Regions from separate parts of the Homo sapiens genome. Here regions 2 and 3 are each linked to region 1. Evidence: promoter capture Hi-C in human tissues and cell types (Jung and others, 2019). All regions are on one chromosome and are shown on one strand. Each heading gives the region's core, a stretch centred on a gene start or on the middle of the fragment in contact. The rest is flanking DNA. Distances are from core to core; before and after follow the strand shown. Region 1 holds the start of UBALD2 (UBA like domain containing 2). Region 2 overlaps SAP30BP (SAP30 binding protein). Region 3 overlaps GRB2 (growth factor receptor bound protein 2).

The links. Contacts are between HindIII fragments. The study calls those that stand out against the background at their distance.
Region 2: a fragment that was not itself captured here is called in contact with the fragment with the promoter of UBALD2 in region 1 in 1 of the 25 tissues and cell types used here (dorsolateral prefrontal cortex).
Region 3: a fragment that was not itself captured here is called in contact with the fragment with the promoter of UBALD2 in region 1 in 1 of the 25 tissues and cell types used here (pancreas).

What each region holds. Positions count from the first base shown.
Region 1 is chr17:76,264,082-76,266,781 of GRCh38, forward strand. UBALD2 (UBA like domain containing 2) reads left to right here and starts at 1,267. Exons shown (of 3, transcript NM_182565.4): 1 at 1,267-1,544; 2 at 1,826-1,888. The coding sequence starts at 1,425. LOC105371896 (a long non-coding RNA gene) reads right to left here and starts at 1,000. Exons shown (of 6, transcript XR_007065913.1): 1 at 1-1,000. RefSeq lists enhancers at 670-719, 1,980-2,079 and silencers at 1,070-1,369, 1,670-1,809. The HindIII fragment of the contact is 4,971 bases long and covers 1-2,700 here.
Region 2 is chr17:75,672,555-75,675,254 of GRCh38, forward strand. The region is part of intron 3 of SAP30BP (SAP30 binding protein); the gene reads left to right. Among named protein-coding and RNA genes, the nearest start is that of SAP30BP, 6.6 kb to the left of the region's middle. The HindIII fragment of the contact is 5,826 bases long and covers 1-2,700 here.
Region 3 is chr17:75,345,346-75,348,045 of GRCh38, forward strand. The region is part of intron 2 of GRB2 (growth factor receptor bound protein 2); the gene reads right to left. Among named protein-coding and RNA genes, the nearest start is that of SLC25A19, 57 kb to the left of the region's middle. RefSeq lists enhancers at 1-692, 67-346, 1,957-2,016, 2,027-2,106 and silencers at 1,677-1,845, 1,757-1,816. The HindIII fragment of the contact is 8,077 bases long and covers 1-2,700 here.

The DNA of each region.
Region 1 (2,700 bases), core at 17-2,516:
AAATTTTGGACTTTAAAGGGCTACCACTGAGAAACAGTATCTCTGTAGAAACACTCACTGTTTGTTATTGTTTGTTTTTATTTGGTAGAGATGGAGTCTGTGCTATGTTGCCCAAGCTGGTGTTGAACTCCCGGCCTCAAGTTATCCTCCTGTCTCGGCCTCCCAAAGTGCTGGGATTATAGGTGTAAGCCATCCCAACCCCAGACTCCACCCCTACTGCCACCCGTTGTTTTTTTAAAAGATGGTAGAAATTAAAGCTTCATCTTAGCTTTCGTGACAAGCAAGAGAAAAAAAAAAAAAGAAAATTAAAGCTTCAGTTAGGTCAACCGATTTAACAAGAAAAAATTCTTGACTTGGCATTTTGGCCACTGAGAAAGTCTCACTTTTTTCCTTGCATATTTCCTTGCATATCGTATTTATTGTACATAAATCTTGGCTTCCATCTTCAGAGAGCAAAGTCTTTGGTCTAAAAACTGAGAAAATACTGCTCGATCCTTGCGGTGGGTAGTGATTAGAAGAGGGCAGGACGCGGGTTCCTAGGGTGCAAGTAACGTTCTGTTAATTGATCTGGGTGTTCACTTGGTGAAAAGTCTGGAAGCTGTACCTGCGACATCGCACTTTCCTAATGTACGTTATATTTCAATAAAAGATTTTTTTAAATTGGACTGCTTGAAAGTTATTTTTAAAAATTACATGCTTTTGAGACTTGAGCAGCTGCAAAGGCTCTGTTTTCTATTTTGATCATTCTGTTTCTCGAGATGACCACATCTTTCAGAGGAAATGAGTCAAAGCCACTCTGTCTTGCTTTTCCAGCTGAGCATGTTCTGTTTCAATGAAGTAATGAATGAACTTGGCCGCACCACCCCCAAGCCTACAACAGCAAACAGAGGGCCCTCGGCCAATCAGCAGGCACTCCGGGTTTTCAAGTTGAGTTCAAACAGGACCACCGGAGGCCAATCAGAGTGCGCGGCCCCGCCCCGAACGCCCGGCCGTGACCAACCACGAGGCCGGATGAGCCAAAACACAGCGGCCGGCCAATGCTGGGGAGCCCCACGGCGCCGAGCTCCGCCAATGGGCGCGGCCGGGCGAAAAGAGAAACAGTGAGGGCCCCACAGGCCGCAGGATTCGAATCGAACGTCCTTACGGGAGCCGGGCGCTGGCGGAGCGGCGCCCCGGCCAATCAGCGGCAGTCCCCGAACGTTGGGCCGGCCCAGCCCCGCCCCGCGCTGTTGTTTGTGGTGTCGGCCGGGCCGCGGGAGTCGAACCACAACATTCGCCGGGCGGGCGGCGGCGGAGCGGGCGGCGGAGCGGCGGCAGCAGCGGTGAGCGCGAGCCCCGGAGCCCCGGGCGGCCGGCCTCCCGCGCCCGCGCAGCCCCGCGTCTGCGTCCGGCCGGAGACGCCGGGCCCCGCGCCGCGCCGCGCCATGTCGGTGAACATGGACGAGCTGCGGCACCAGGTCATGATCAACCAGTTCGTGCTGGCCGCGGGCTGCGCGGCCGACCAGGCGAAGCAGTTGCTGCAGGCGGCCCACTGGCAGTTCGAGGTGCGAGCCTGGCCGCCGCGGGGCCGGGCCGCGGGGGTCGGGGACGCCGGGCGGCGGCGGGGGCGGGGAGCGCTCCTGTTGTCGGCCCGGAAGGCGATCGGCGCCCGCGAGCGGGTCTTACGCGGGACCGGGGCCGGGACCGGCTCCCCTCTGCACGTGGGGCAGCCGAGGGTCGGGGGCCGCGGGCCGGGCGCGGAGGCGGGGAGAGCCGGTGGGGGGCCCAGCCGCTGCGTTTCCTGACTCCGCCTGGCCCGCCGTGTCACTGCCCTGTTTGTCCGCAGACCGCGCTGAGCACGTTCTTCCAAGAAACCAACATTCCCAACAGCCACCACCACCACCAGATGGTAAGCGGCGGCGGGCAGGGGCGCGGGCCGGGGCCGCTGTCAGCGCGGCGGTGACAGCCATGTTGCCGGGGAGCGCCGCGCCGCGAATGTAAACAAAGAGCCAAAATGTCTTCCAGGAAAGAGCGGCTCCCGGGCCGGCGCTGGCGCCTCCAACTTTGAGGCCCGCCTCCCGGGCTGCTGCTGCTTGGCCTCGGGACTGGTGCCCGGCACTGGTCCCTGGGGGGAAGCGGCGCCAAAGTTGGGGGGAGGGGGAGAGGGCCGGGGGCCTGGCGAGGGGCTCAGGAGCTGGGGGACCCCAGAGCCAGGGGATGGGGAGGGGGAGAGGGTGATGCCCGGACGTCTGGGGCACTGGGAAGCCCGCGCGAAGGGCCCAGGGAGGGCGATGGGGGTGCTTGTGTTTATGGGGACCCCCTCGTGCTGTTGAGTGGTTTCCCCCCTCCCCCTCCACACACACACACACCCAGCGCTACAGGGAACAGGAAAGGCATGAATCCACCCTGGCTCAGGAAGCCGGGCTCTACCCACAAAGATCTGTTCAACCTTCCGAAGCCCAAGGGGACTGGGAAGTTGGAAGGACATACATCCCCCAAGCCAGGAGGACACACAGATTTTGACCCAAGATAAGGCCAGGAATGTGTCTTTAATCTCTGTGTTGAGCTCCACCAGCCCAGCACACAGAGAAGTGGTCCGGGGTCTGGATTTGCTTTCTTTTTCATTCTAGCCCAGGCCCAAGCTTTTGCCCTCCTGGCCATGGGGTACTCTGCTTTCTTGAGGCCCAGGACATCTCTCCTGTACCCTACCCCCCTAGTTAC
Region 2 (2,700 bases), core at 165-2,664, 590 kb before region 1:
CTGAAGAGTCATTTTTTATGAGGAAAAACTTCCCCCCTGTACCCCCAAAGAAAAAGACTTAATTATATCACTCTAGACCCGGGGAATAAGGACCCATTTTGCAGTTAAAAACTGCTTTGAGGCCAGCCGCAGTAGCTCACGCCTGTAATCCCAGCACTTTGGGAGGCTGAGGCGGGAGGATCACTTGAGGTCAGGAGTTCAAGACCAGCCTGGCCAGTATGGTGAAACCCCGTCTCTACTAAAAATACAAAAATTAACTGGTGAGACTGGTGGGTGGTGCACACCTGTGATCCCAGCTACTGGGGAAGCTGAGGCAGGGGAATTACTTGAACCTGGGAGGCAGAGGTTGCAGTGAGCCATGATCTGCCAATGCACTCCAACCTGGGCAACAGAATGAGAATCTGTCTCAAAAAAAAAAACAAAAAAAAACTGCTTGGAAACCAGCTGTAACTTTCAAGATGACCTAGTAAAATTTAGGAAATTTATGCCCAATTAAAATCTAAAACAGTAATATTCTTGAAAATATAGTGTGAGCTGTTCCATATTTGAGCTGATTCTGTGATTGGATAGAACTGTATGTAGCCACTAAAATCTTGAGACGTTGTGAGTGAGAAAGATAAGAGTGTGTTTTACCAGGAAAGAAAGTTTTGGCGCCAGCATGCAGGAGGGAAAAAAAAGAACCCCTGAAAACTGTAAATGCAACCTGCTTTCTATGCTGAGTGAAAAACCTGGAACCCAGGCCTGAGAACTCGCCCTGCCTGAGAACTGGCAAGATGGTATGGGCAGACCCATGGCCCCATAGTTCAAAGTCAGTCACAGCTCTCCTCGGGCTTGCAGAACAAAACACTCAGTAGTGATAATCTTCTCTGCCTAGTATTTAGGGTATGTGGGACTTGGAGCCTGCACGTAAAACAAGCCCAGGGAGCCGTTAAGTGTTTGGGTTTCAGTTGTGGAGGGAAGGGAGGATCTGGGTCCTAGAGTCTTTCTGGGTACAGTTGCAGCCTTTTCTTAGGGCTGGAAGGCTTCCTGGGGAAGTTGGCTGGAGAGGAGGGTACATAACACTTAACGGTCACCCCTTCTAAAATACTGTAATCCAGGCAACAAATCCTTGGGAGATGACAGGGCTTTGTGAGTCAGGGTGGGGGTCACATGAAAAACAAAACAGACTTTACTGCTGTCCAGTAGCAGTCACTAAAGAGCGGGGTGGGAGGGACCCAAAAAAGGTGAAGCTGGGAAGATTGTGGAAATGCCTTTTGTGCTCAGGCTCCCCTTCTCAGCCCTACATCACGGCTGACAGCCTCGTCATTCCTGCCTGCTCCTTGACTGATGTGCTTCGCTGTTCCTCATTCACTCATGTGCATTTCAAGTTTTACTGTGGAATGAAAAGTTTTCATGGAATAATTTCTGTTCCTCTTGAGGAGCCCTCAGAAATCAGAACACAAAATCCAACCCTCAAAGTCACTTGATATAGTTCTTTTGGAGGGTGATGGAGAAGGGTTTAGATAAAGCTTGCCAGCTTCAATGTTCTGCAATCCCCAGTGGCTGCCAGGCCTTTAGGAGTCCTCGTGGCATCTCCAAGGACTACAAATGATCCCCAGCATGAGTCTTCTGTGATACTCTTATCTTAGTCCTGGCCCTGTCATCCTTCTGCTTGAGCTGGCCTCAGACTCTCTTCCACATAGCAACATGTACCTCAAATCCAGAACTTTCTGGCACATTTACATTTTATTTTTATTTATTTATTTTATTTATTTTTTTGAGACAGAGTCTTGCTCTGTCGCTCAGGCTGGAGTGCAGTGCTGTGATCTCGGCTCAGTGCAACCTCCGCCTCCTGGGTTCAAGCGATTCTCCTGTCTCAGTTTCCCGAGTAGCTGGGATTACAGGTGTGAGCCACCATGCCCAGCTAATTTTTTGTATTTTTAATAGAGACAGGGTTTCACCATGTTGGCCAGGCTGGTCTTGAACTCATGGCCTCAAGTGATAGGCCCGCCTCTGCCTCCCAAAGTGCTGGGATTACAGGCATAAGCCACTGTGCCCAGCCCACATTTTTTTAAATTGATGTGTAACAATATTTTTTATATTCAAAACCCTTAATTTTGGACATTCTGCTTTAAGCATATGAAGTTTTTTTGTTTGTTTTTTGTTTTTTTTTTTTTTTTTTTTTTTTTTTTGAGGTGGAGTCTCCTCTGTCGCCTGGAGTGCAGTGGTGCCATCATAACTTACTGCAGCCACAACCTCCCTGGCTCAATTAATCCTCCCACCTCAGCCTCCCAAACAGCTGGGACTACAGGTGTGTGCATCACACCTAGCAATTTTTTTTAATTTTTTTGTAGAGGAAAGGTTTTGCCATATTGCCCCGGCTGGTCTTGAACTCCTGGGCTCAAGTAATCTGCCCACATTGGCTTCCCAAAGGGCTGGGATTAGAGCTGTGAGCCACCAGGCCCAGTGCACATGAACATAGGAAGTTTCTAACAATAGAATATGTTACAAGTGTGGATCTTTGTTAGAAGTGTTGTTTAACAATTAGATTACTGTCATAATTGTCATCTCCACTAGGTGGCATTCTCCTTTCTACTTTGGTTTTTTGTTGTTTTTTTGTTTTGTTTTGTTTTTGAGTAGGAGTTTCGCTCTTGTTGCCCAAGCTGGAGTGCAATGGCGCAATCTCAGCTCACTGCAACCTCTGCCTCCCGCATTCAAGCC
Region 3 (2,700 bases), core at 63-2,562, 920 kb before region 1:
ACAACAGAGTTTATTTAATTCCACGTAAGACTATGATTCAAGGGGTCAATGAAAGGACTGATCGATTTTCAGTCGTTCTGTGACCCAAGAGCCACCTCAGAGGATGTTATTGAAAGAAGAAAAAGCAATGTTGGTCACAGAACTATTCACCAACGTGTGCATAAGGATACAGGACTGAAAAACTCAAGGCTGGGGTCCTCCCACCAGGACACCGTTAATTTCCAACTCAAAAAGCTAGTTCCAAATGCATTTTCTACTTCTGAAGCAGTTAATCTAGTTCCAAATCGGGAAAGGCTTGTTATAATCACATGACAGAGGAAGAGGAACTGGGGTAGAGTGGCAAGTCCCTACCCCCACCCCCACCCCCACCCCCAGGGTGGAGGCGAATGCAGAGAGTTCAACAGGTAATGACAATACAAACTGCAAATGTGGATTCAAGCTAGTGGACAGGGTCAGGGAGCAGAAAACACAGGGACCTAAACTAGTCTCGGGGTGGGGGCTGCCTGAGAAAGCCTCCCCAAGCCAGTGACATTTGAAGGGAGATCAAAGGCTCTCCTGTGGGTGGTCTGGCAGAAGACCACAGTATGCAAATTAAGAAGCTCAAGCTTATATGTTACAATCATCAGAAGTCGCTGAGAGTGACATTCAGGTTTGCATTTTTCAAAAGCTCCTCTGGCTGACTGTGAGATGAACTGCAAGGAGGTGCAGGTGGGTGGGGCAGTGCGGTAGAGAGGAGAGAGTCGAGGTATTTCTGGAGGTAGAATCAAAAGGACTTGGTGATGAGATGCTGCTCAGTGGTCTTCCTCTCGGCCACTGATTTTTTTTTTTTTTTTTTCTGAAAACTGCTTTAGAAAAACTGCTATATTGGCTGGGCACAGTGGCTGATGCCTGTAATCCCAGCACTTTGGGATGCCAAGGCAGGCGGATCACTTGAGGTCAGGAGTTCAAGACCCGCCTGGCCAACATGGTAAAACCCTGTCTCTACTACAAAATACAAAAAATTATCTGGGCACGGTGGCGGGCGCCTGTAGTCCCAGCTACTCGGGGGGCTGAGGCAGGAGAATCGCTTGAACCTGGGAGGCAGAAGTTGCAGGGAGCCGAGACTGCGCCACTGCATTCCAGCCTGGGCAATAGAGTGAGACTCCGTCTCCAAAAAACAAAGACAGGTATCAATCTTATGCTGGTATCCTCCATCTGTCTCTCCAGATCCAGTTACACCTTGCTTTTCTTGCCTTTTTTTTTTTTTTTTTTTTTTTGAGACAGAGTCACACTCTTTGCACAGGCAGGAGTGCAGTGGTGCAATCCTGGCTCACTGCAACCTCCACCGCCCGGGTTCAAATGATTCCCCTGCCTCAGCCTCCCAAGCAGCTGGGATTACCACACCTGGCTAATTTTTGTATTTTTTAGTAGAGACGGGGTTTCATCATGTTGGCCAGGCTAGTCTCAAACTCCTAACCTCAAGTCACCTTGGCCTCTCAAAGTGCTGGGATTACAGGCATGAGCCACTGTGCCCAGCCTGCTCTGACTTTTTGGCTCTGTAAGAACCACATCAACAGGCTCCCTCACTCTCTGGCTCCCAGTGCTATTAATCAATGGGGAGGCCTGCAGAAGGTCAGACGAAGGGAGGGTCAGGTCAGGGCATTCATTCTCCCAGCTCCCACCCTGAGAGTGTCTGTGGACAGTCTTGGACTCTCAATTGAAAGTAAGTCCTTTCCTTCTCCAGGTTTGGGCAACTCCTCCCCCTTCCTTCTCCCTGTCGTAGGCCTCATGGTGGTAACCTGATTACCAGCTGTGGACACTGCATTATCCCTGTGGTTTCTAGAGAAACTTCGCCCACACTGATAGCGGCAGGAGGCAGACAAATGCCTCACAGGGGCGGGTCTCCAGTGAAACCCCACCTCTAAGCCAAAGACAACTGAAAGCCTGAAAGCCACACTACAGGTCAAATCCATGGACCGGACTGAGAACCCATCTTCCCATTTGGTAGGCTTTCCTCTGATTGATCCCCACTCTTCACCTATTTTACATCTACCTACCCTTTCCGAATTGATTTTCTACACTGCCATGCCCATCTTTGAGTGGTGCCTTTGCTTTAGCCTTTCTTTGCATGCCCACAAACCATTCAGCATGCATGCCCCTGTTCTGAGCCCATAAAAGCCCCCACCCAGCCACACTGGGAGAGAAACCACCAGACTTCAGGGGTGGGGAACCACTACCTCCTCCGCTCCTGAAAGCTGTTCACCGCTCAATAAAATTCTTCTCCACCCTCCTCACCCTTAAATTGCCAGTGTAACCTCATTCTTCTCAGACACAGGACAAGACCTTGGGAACTGCTGAACCTGGGAACAAGCCATAACACAGGTGAGCTGGGGCATACCCAGCCCAGCCATGAGCTGAGCTGGTGCGCAACCAAGACTTAGCCTGAGTGGGCTGAGTGTGGAGGTCCCCAGCTGGAGTCAACACCTTGCAAATAGTCTCATTATTAAAATCCTCTCAATTTAAGTGTGTCAGGTGTTCTCTACCAGGACTCAGACTGAAATTAGCCTAAAATCAGTTGTATATGTCTTTTGGAATGCATTAAGGACATGCTCCTTTATATAAAGTGACATTTGTTATGGGGCAGAAAGTATCCAAATTCTACCAACTACTTGGAAGAAGAAAACTATAAAAGAGCCAAACAATTCTGTTCTGTTAACCGCT